Linked DNA regions of Homo sapiens: region 2 is linked to region 1. The links are contacts of gene promoters, found by promoter capture Hi-C in human tissues and cell types (Jung and others, 2019). All regions are on one chromosome and are shown on one strand. The core of a region is centred on a gene start or on the middle of the fragment in contact, and the rest is flanking DNA. Distances in the headings are between cores, read along the strand shown. Region 1 holds the start of SMO (smoothened, frizzled class receptor). Region 2 overlaps TNPO3 (transportin 3).

What was found. The method cuts DNA at HindIII sites, captures the fragments that hold promoters and counts their contacts. A contact is called where the count stands out against the background at its distance.
Region 2: a fragment that was not itself captured here is called in contact with the fragment with the promoter of SMO in region 1 in 2 of the 25 tissues and cell types used here (lymphoblastoid cells and pancreas).

The regions. Positions count from the first base shown.
Region 1 is chr7:129,186,863-129,191,535 of GRCh38, reverse strand. It overlaps SMO (smoothened, frizzled class receptor), which reads right to left and starts at 2,903. Exons shown (of 12, transcript NM_005631.5): 1 at 2,054-2,903. The coding sequence starts at 2,384. RefSeq lists silencers at 2,207-2,466, 2,697-2,966 and an enhancer at 3,596-3,685. The HindIII fragment of the contact is 17,880 bases long and covers 1-4,673 here.
Region 2 is chr7:128,953,376-128,958,195 of GRCh38, reverse strand. TNPO3 (transportin 3) reads left to right here. Exons shown (of 23, transcript NM_012470.4): 22 at 881-972; 23 at 2,811-4,011. The coding sequence ends at 941. Among named protein-coding and RNA genes, the nearest start is that of IRF5, 18 kb to the right of the region's middle. The HindIII fragment of the contact is 3,933 bases long and covers 1-3,831 here.

The DNA of each region.
Region 1 (4,673 bases), core at 1,654-4,153:
GCAAGTCCCAAGCAGAAAGAGTGCAACCAGAACACATATGGAAACAGGAATGAGCTGAGGGATGGTGGTTGGTGGCAGAGAAGAACTCATAGTGAACTAATGGAACTAACGGTGCTGGGCTCAGTGCTGGCATCTCTGTAGGACCCTGCCCTGCCAAAAGGCACAGATAGTGAGATTTCAACCTGCACAACCTGCAGATGGTACTAATTGATACATGTTCCAGCTTAAACTACTTCTGTCTGCTCAGCAGCTGCTCTCAAGAGTATGGGCTGGAAAGAGGTTCATACCCTTCCTCCTTGATCTGATGGTAACTACACAGAGGCAACATCAAACATGCATTTAACTTGGGAAAATTAAACCATGGGTCCTTGCACAATCAATAAAGAGAGGGACAGAAAGATTATCCTCTGACAGCATGAGCAACTCAGAACTGGGTGAGATTCTAGTGCTGAGAGATTTGGACTTTCCACACAGCTGGCTCCTAAACTCAAGTCTCATTTTGGGTGGTGCTCAAAGCAATCTTGCTTAATCTCACTTTGGTGTTCTTTTTATTATTATTATTATTATTTCAGTCTTTTGCATGAATGTAACTTTAAAATTACAATTATTTTATCTTCTATGTATACCCATTCTTATATATGAGTATACATGTAACACATGTATGCAAACATCGTAAAAGAAGTGTATATGCAAAACCACATCCACCTTACACTATGGTAATCTGCAGAGTTTTCAAAGCCACTGTTGTTTACACATGATTTCTGTCTAATGTGCTGTGCTGACTTTAGAACCTGATCCCCAAAAAGGATGCAGCTCTTCCTCATGGGTACCATGGATACCATCCTCCAAGTTCCTCCTCCAGCATCTGCACCAAGCCAGGAACCTTATGGCCTTGTCCAACATCTGACAAAGGCCGAGAACTTGTCAATGACAGGCGGCCTACATACACTCCCTACATTAGGGTCCTCACCAGCCCCCTGGGCAGAGCTAAGAGATGGGGTACCCCAGCCCTGTCAAAAGAGGGAGGCTCCCAGTTCTGCTCCTGGCTCCTGGTTTTCTTTTCTTTTTCCCAGGACAGTTTTAGAATCATACTGGCTAGAAGCGAGGGCTGATAAGGCCAGCTCCCTTCCTCAGCACCCTCCAAGCCTCATCTAGAAAAGTGACAGGTGGGGGAGAGTATACTCCACACTGCTAAGGAAGGACATTTGGGTTCAGTGTGCAGTTTTTCAGACTCTGCCACTCCAGTGAGGGGGCTTTGGGACTTCAAACCACCATGGAAGTGTCCACAGGCTCTCAACACTCCAGACTTAAGCGTCCTTCCACAGCCCTGACCAGCCTCGGTAACCAAATTTCCAAAGAAAACACAAATAACTGTTAGAAAGGTCTTATTCCTTCATAACCTCCTGCATGCGTCAGAGGGCCGGTTTTTCAGATGCACAAACTGAATGAAATCTCCCGTGAAAGCCAGACAAGATCACAGTTCTCTAGGCTTCATTCCTGTCTCCCAAATCAAGATTTCCAGAACTTTCTGGTTACCTTTTAATAATTCATCACTAGGGAGGTTTCTTTTCCTTCAAAACTTCACTCGATCATGTCCCCCTACCCTTCCCTCCAAATGTCTAAACCTCTTCCTCCGTCATCCCTCCCCTTTTCCTCTCCAACTCCAATTTCCCCAGGGTCTTCAACACCTCCTTGAATCCCCCGGCACCCTGCTTCCAGAATAGGTGGAGCATCTCCTCTTCTTACAAAATGTCTTTTCCCGTGGCTTAGAGCCACCTCCTCACGGGCCCCTCATCCCCGCCATCCTTTGCTCACCCACCAGCTCAGGCCCTTTGTGACCCGCTTCGTCAACTTCCTTGCCCTCCTTTTCCCATGACCGAGGGTCCCATCCTGCACGTAACCTGCCCCCAAAGTTTCGGGATCTGTCCCTCCAACTCTCCCGGGTGCTGTCCCCGCCCTCTCCAAAACTCAGGCCTGAGCCTGTTCTTTCCAAGGGTGCCCCCATCTTACCGCGGCACCTCCCGCCCCCCAGACCCGGCTCCGCCGCACTTACCCGACCAGAGCACGAGCTTGCCGTGCGCTTCCTCCTGGGAGTCCGAGTCTCCGGCCAGCAGTGTGGAGGTGGCCCCGTAGGGCAGCACCGAGCCCAGGCACACGTTGTAGCGCAGCGGCTCGCAGGGGGCAGCCCGGCCGCAGTGGCTCAGCGGCGGCGGAGGGCCAGTCACCGCCGCGCTCCTCCTCGCGCTCCCGCCCGCGCTCCGAGGCCCAGGCCCGGTCGCGTTCCCGCTCGAGGCCGCCCCCCGGCCCGGGTCCCCCAGCAGCAGCAGCAGCAGCAGCCCCAGGAGCGGGAGCTCCGGCCCCCGCGCTGGGCGGGCAGCGGCCATGGCCAACCCCGCCAACTCAGCAAAAGCCCCGGCGCCCCCGCCTGCTCCTCGGAGCCCCCCGGCCACACGCACGACCTCGGCGGCCGCGGAGGCGGCTCAGGCGACCTGTGCGCCCAGAGAATCCGGGCCCGGGCCCCCCCGGACGCTCCGCGCGCCCCGGCCCCTCGGCGCCCAACTTCGCAAACTTTGGAACCCGGGGCCCATGTTGGGCTGCGGAGGCCCGGAACGGGATGCACGACTCCCCAAGCCCTAGCCTCGCAATCCAAGTTGTCTTCAGCCCTAGGAGACCCCTGGGCCCCCAATCCCCAGCCCCATTCCCTCTCCCACCATTAAAGCCACCTCCCCGCCCCGCGAGGGAGGCCAGACGCGGGCCGGGGGTGCGAGTGCAGCTCCGGCTCCGCCCCCGCGCCAGCCCGCGGCCCAGCAGCCACCTTCGCCCCAGCGCGCCGCAGCCCCCCGAACTCTCCCCGCCGGCGACCCGGCTCCTTTGTTGCTCTAGCTCGCTGGGCTCTCTGGAATGCACGGGCCTCGCGGAGCCAAGCCCGGCCCCCCTGCGCCGAGGCTGGGGGAGGGACTGGACGAAGGAGCGGAGAGGTGGGGAGGGGAGGCGAGAGAGGAAGAGCGCGAGCGTCAGCGTCCCTGGCGCCTGGAGGGGCCCGGGCTAGGGGGATCTGGTGACCCCGCCTGCCGCCGCCCCGCGCCCGGGGGAAAGAGATGAGTGGAAATCGTGGGCCGGACCTGCAAGGAGAGACTCGGCGGGCACCTTGCTTGGTCTGAGGTCGTCTGCAGGAAGCGGACTTTTCTCCTGGCTCAGGATGGGAAAGACAGGGGATGCCTGAAGTCAACGGGGACTTCTGTTCCATCTCTGCCCCGTTCTCCAGGCCCGCCAGTTTTTCCTGCTTTGGTTAGATTTTCCAACGTATCCCGGGGCCCCATGGAGAAGAACCTGGGTTTGGGGTTTGCGCTTCTCCAAATCCTTCCAGCTCGGGACCTTTGAGAGAGACGACCTCAGAGTCACTCACGGCAGCTGCTCTGGCTGCTGTTACCTGCGGGAACAGGTGTCTGGGAAATAAACTTGCCAACATCAAGCCTTTACTGCTACAAATATGTGAAGTCTGAACTGTGGTTCCCAGGGACTGGCCTTGGTTATGTGAGAAGGAAACCAGTCCTTCTTTGATGGCCCTGCTGCTCATCTGCTCTGGGAGGTTTCTGCTGCTCCTCTTCCCCACTCTGCTCATTTTGCCTTTCCTCACTCCTTTGAGCATCACACTTTTGGTCACCACACTTAATTTCCCACTTCAGCAGTTTACACCTGCACAACCAAGTATAACCCAGCATAACCACAAGGCTCCAAACAGGAGAGTAGACTTGCACTGAGCAACTTTTTCCTTGTTGCTGATCGGGCTGCACACCAGGGTGGGTTTTCCTTTCTTACCCCTGGAAGACTTGCTCATGGCCTAGCGGTAGTGGACTAGTTCTGTTACTTTGGACAGTTTAAGTGCATATTAGTTATTGCACTTCAACTATATCAATTGGAGAGAGAGAGAGAATTTAATTCAATTTAGCAAGTCTTTCTGAAATTCCAGCATGTACATAGCACAGAGACATCCTGGAGGAACCTGTAGACTTCCATTTTCCTGTGGATACATGGCTTGCTCTCAGGAAACATAGCATGACAGAACAGCAACGTTCCCTCCTTCAGGTCAGGGACCTTATCTCATTCTCTTAGTGTTCACAAAACATCTAGTTCACTTGAGCATACATAGTAATCACTTGATAAATAAGCTGCCAAAATGAGATGTACCGTGAGTATGCTATAGGAATAGGGGACAGAGGTCAGTGTGGATAGAAGTGGAGGAGGTGGGTTTTGAATCCAGGACTAAAGTGTGAGTAGGAGGAGTTAGAATAAGGACATAGATAAGTAGGGAAACTGATTGGTAAGAAGCCTCAAATAACACACAGAATTAAGGGTCAATTCTCTTGATAGTAAGGAAATCTCAAAGTTTTGACTAGGGGAATGATATTAATCTTTACTGGTTAATATTAGGTGATATGGTTTGGATCTGCATCCCCACCCAATCTCATGTTGAATTGTAATCCTCAGTGTTGGAGGTGAGGCCTGGTGGGAGGTAACTGGATCACGGAGGCAGTTTCTCATGAATGGTTTAGCACCATCCTCCTCGTGCTGCTCTCACGATAATGAGTGAGTTCTCACGAGGATTGTTTAAAGGGTTTGGCACCTCCCCGCTTCTTCCTCCTGCTCCTGCCATGTAAGATGTCTCGCTCCCC
Region 2 (4,820 bases), core at 616-3,115, 230 kb after region 1:
CTCCAGCCTGGATGACATGAGCAAGACTCCATATCAAAAAAAAAAAAAAAAAAAAAAAGGAAGTGCTTCCTTCTCCACTGCTTTAGCTTTTAGCTTAGCCTTATGTTCATTTAGCAAAAACTGTTATGAAGACAGATACAGTAGAATGAAGCTGGCATCAGCTGGTTTCTTGGTGACAGTTTTGGACAAAGGGAGGTCGGGGGGCTTTTGAAAAAACAGGGTCAGTTGAATATTGGGCTATTCATATCACATAGGCATCTCCTGCTTTGTCTCTCTTTCTACATGCTTTAACCCTTTCCTCTCTCCCTCCTCCTCCCACAGGAGGAAATCCTGAGCAGCCTGTTCAACTAGAAAATCAATGACTGGTGGAGACTTAGTTGCTAGACCGGCCTTTGTAAACAAAATCTATCTTTGGAAGAGAATGAGGAAACTTATGAGAGCCGTAGCAACCAAGTGTTGTTGTAGCAGCCTACATTTATTGAATACTATTTTGTTCACTGCTCTATTTTCATAAGCACTCTGTATGTGGACGATTTTAATCCTCTAAACAGTGTTATGAAGTAGATAATATTAATAGATGAGGAAACTGAGACAAAGATTGGTAACTTGTTCAAGGGCACAGTGGAGCCAAGATTCAAACTCGGGCAGTTTGTGTCCAGAGTACACCCTTTGAAGACCACCAAGCTTATAACTTTTCTCATATATAATAATTTTTGCCCTGAATTACAGAAAGATCTGAAGCCAGGATCGCTCAGGAGACGATGGAGAGAGCTCCTAGCAGAGTTGGGACGGTTCTCAGTGTGCCCCAATGTTGCAGTTGTTTTTCAGCATATTCTGTCTTTCTCCTCAGTCAAGGACCAACCTACCTTTTCTTTTCTAGTGCTGAGGAATGTAAACAAGTTTGCTGGGCCTTGCGAGACTTCACCAGGTTGTTTCGATAGCTCACACTCCTGCACTGTGCCTGTCACCCAGGTGAGGATACATAGTTCCCAGCTTTTGTCCGGACTGTCGGACTGTTGGGGATGCCTGGGAATGGGGATAGGTTTTAATGCCTATCATGGGACCAGTCTTATAGCTAGAGTCAGGGAAGGACTCAGCAGTTTAACTGTGGTGAACAGCTGGAATATACAGGGCCCGGATTTTCTTGGGCCTGGGCAGCCAGTAATTGTCAGTGTCTTTGGGGTACCATTTTCACCTCCATAAGAAAGTAACTGTTACACAGTGCATTGAAACATTTTCTTCCCCCTTCCCCTTACAGACACTTCTAAGATGGTAAGTGTACATGGCAACAAACAAATAAGTATTTTTAACCTGGCCACTTTGGCGAAAACAACCTCAAGTTGACTGTTATATGTGGTGCCAGTCTCCTAAAACTGACCCTCCAGATGTAATGAGCAAAGAGCTTATTCTTATCACTTTTATGACCTGAATGCTGAAGTGCCAGGTTTTGACCAGGGCAGGAGGTATGAATTGAATATCCCTTATCCGAAATGCTTGGGATTTCGGAGGAAAAAACACTTTCAGAAGTGTTTTTCAATTTTGGATTTTTTGGGATTTTGGAATATTTGCAGAATGCACACCAGTTGAGCATTCCTAATCCAAAAATCCAAAATCCAAAATGCTCCAATGCTCATTCGCTTGAGGGTCATATCAGCGTTCAAAAAGTTTCAGCTGTTAGGGATGCTTGGCCCTTACAGGAGAGGAGGAGCATCTTTGGCTCCCGATGAGCACTTTTCTCCACGTGCTTTCCGTCTCCTGGTTCTGAAGCAAAGCAAGAAGCTTAGCTGAAAGGAGTGGGTAGTAGAATTTGGGTGCCAGTTTCTTGATGGAGAGAAGAAAGGTAGCTCTCCTCTAAGCCCACCCTTTGATGTCTCAAGGTGAGTTTCTTCTCCCAGGAGGCAATTCTTGATGAATCTGTAGCACTCACTGGTAGTTTCTGTGTTAAATGCATTCATAGGTAAAAGTGATGTTCAGCAGTGCCTTGCCACACCCAAAATCATTTCTCAACTTTGATTGTTTTAATGAGTAATAATATCATTTGGGATGTCCTGGTTTTGCATGGTGTCTGGGTTAGCTGACATTGATACACCTCATAAGGTTGCTCATGGACAGCTGTAGGTGTTCATGGTTAACTTTTATTGTGCCCTTACTGTGTGTCAGGGCACTGTTTTAAGTGTTTTAGATGTATTAACTAAGATAATCCTCATCTGCTTTTCTGGATTTGTTACTATTTTTCCCATTTTACAAATGAGGAAATTGAGGTTCAACAATGTTTAACAATTTGCCTGACAGTTATTCGTGGAGCCAGAATTCACATGTAGATATTCTGGTACCAGAGTCCTCACTTTGAACCACTCCGCTTAATACAGTATCCTTTCGATAGCATCTAAATTGGTGTTTTGTTTTGTTTTGTTTTCAACTGTTATTAGTAGGCAAAGCCTTCTTTCAAAATAAAATCGACATGAAGCCTGTGGGATTTAGCAGACTGAGGCAAAGCTTCCCTGGTTGCTTTGGAATGGGAGGCCTGGACCTGCTGGCTCTTTGCCCTCCTGACACATCATCCCTTGTTTCCACAGCACACTCAGCATTGGAAGCACACTGCAGACGGTGTCTCATTAAAGCAGTAGCTCCCTTGAACCCACAAGTTAAAACGCCAGACTTTTATTTATTTGTTTATTTTTTCTGAGTTCTTATTGGCAGACTTCAGAATGAGGTACCTGAGGAAATATAGAAACCTCTGCCTTAAGGTTGATTTTACTAAATGCTCTATTTTCTGGTGCAGTTATTGACTGTCTTATCTCTTTTGTCAGGAATGTCTTTTTTAATTAGAAGACAGGAAGAAAACAAAAACCAGACTGTGTCCCACAATCAGAAACCTCCGTTGTGGCAGAGGGGCCTTCACCGCCACCAGGGTGTCCCGCCAGACAGGGAGAGACTCCAGCCTTCTGAGGCCATCCTGAGGAGTTCCTGTTTGGGGGTGTGAGGGAAAATCAGCGCGGATTTTAAAAAGATGGCTGTGGCCTGCCCGGCGTGGTGGGAGGGGAGCTGGTTTCCTGGTGAACTTTCTAAAAGGAAAAATAATTTTAAGTAAAGAAAAAAGAAAAAAAAGGAAGACTAAACAGAAACCAGAACTGAAACATTCACCTGGTAGCAAATGACACATGCACGCACACACACATACACGCACAAGCGCCAGTGCGCACGTGTACACAGAAAAACAAAAGGACAAGCTTTCTGTGAAACAAAATATTTACTTAGGGATAATGTGGGGATTCACATGAATTAAATAGCTGCAATTGGAAGAAGAGGGTCAGGGTCATTTGTTCAGGTTTTCTATTGTTTTGTCCTCTCTTTCCTCTCCTACCCTTCCTTCTCTTTCTCTCTCCCCTCCTTTTAAATGCAAATGAGTAGAAATTTCTTCTACCTTCCCCAGCTGTTTCTTCCCACCTTTAGAGTTGTTTAGACAAGGAGGAGTAAGCAAGGAACTTGTTCTGCTTTCTATCGTGGTCACATTGGTGATGCTCGGGACCTGCCAGGGTCAGAATTTATGGATATCTGAACCCTGACCCCGTTCATTCTCTCAGTCCACTTCCAATCCACATCAGTTTGTTGTCTGCCTTGGAGAGAAGAGCCAAAACTGGGGTGGGCGGGTGGGTGGGGAGTGCAGGATATAAATGTGTAAGTTTTTGTTTTTTAAGGTTTTTTTCTTAGTGAATTATTCACCCACAGACATGAGAGAAAAAAAGAGGGAGGGTGTGTGGAGAAAAAATGTTTACAGGGCTAACAAGGGATGATGTGTCATTTAGTATGTTACTAAAAAGTGTGGAAATGACTTGATTTTAAGGGGAGGGTGAGGCCGAAGAGGGAAGCCCAAAGCAGATCTTAATGTTTCAAAGGAGTGCAGCCCTTCACAGCCATCAGATATGAGGGCACTGTTCTGTCTGGTGTTGTAGCCATCTCAAGAACAAATCAACAGCAACAAAAGAGAAAGAATAAATTTTTAAAATTTAACCAGTGTTTCTTTGTTTTTACTTTCATTCACTGCCTTGTAGCTCGGAAATGGTTCAGCTAGACTAGCTATGGAAGCAGCCTTTGGTACCTGATAGACATCTGGGGATGGAGTTGAAAGGGCAGGCCCCTGCCCTGATGCCACAGACCCTTCAGACTTCAGGGAAGTGGTTCATTCTGCACTTTTTATTCTCCTAATTCACACCAAAGCTCATCACGCTTACATTTTACCCTTTTGTGTAGCCTCAGTGGGAAAGGGAGTTGGGTTACTCTTTCAGTTAAACAGTGTGGTATGGTTTTTCTACTATGGCCACCCAAGTAGACAGTTTCCTGACCTGCAGATTTATTGGTCTTTAAAAAAAAAAACTTTATTGAAGTATCATTAACATAATTTGCATGTGTTTAAGGTATACACTTTGATAAGCTTTGACATAAGATACATCCATGAAACCGTTATCACAATCAGGGTAGTGAACATACTCTTTATTTCCAAAAGTTTCCTTGAACCCCTAGGTAATACCTGTTTCCTCCCTCTTCCCATCCATCCCCATTTCCACATAACCACTGGTTTGTTTTCTATCACTGTAGATTAGTTTGCATTTTCCTGAGTTTTTAATAAATGGAATCATAACAGTCTGTTATGGCAATTGGGCTTTGAGCTAATACCTGCAGAGCTGTATTCTAATGTGATAGATCTGGCAGTGTTGTTGATATACTGACACTTCTCTGCCTTTTCTTTGCCTGTCACTTTAACTTTTTCACTCCTGGGCATAAATCCTCAAGCTACAGAACAATAGGAATTGGTGAAACAA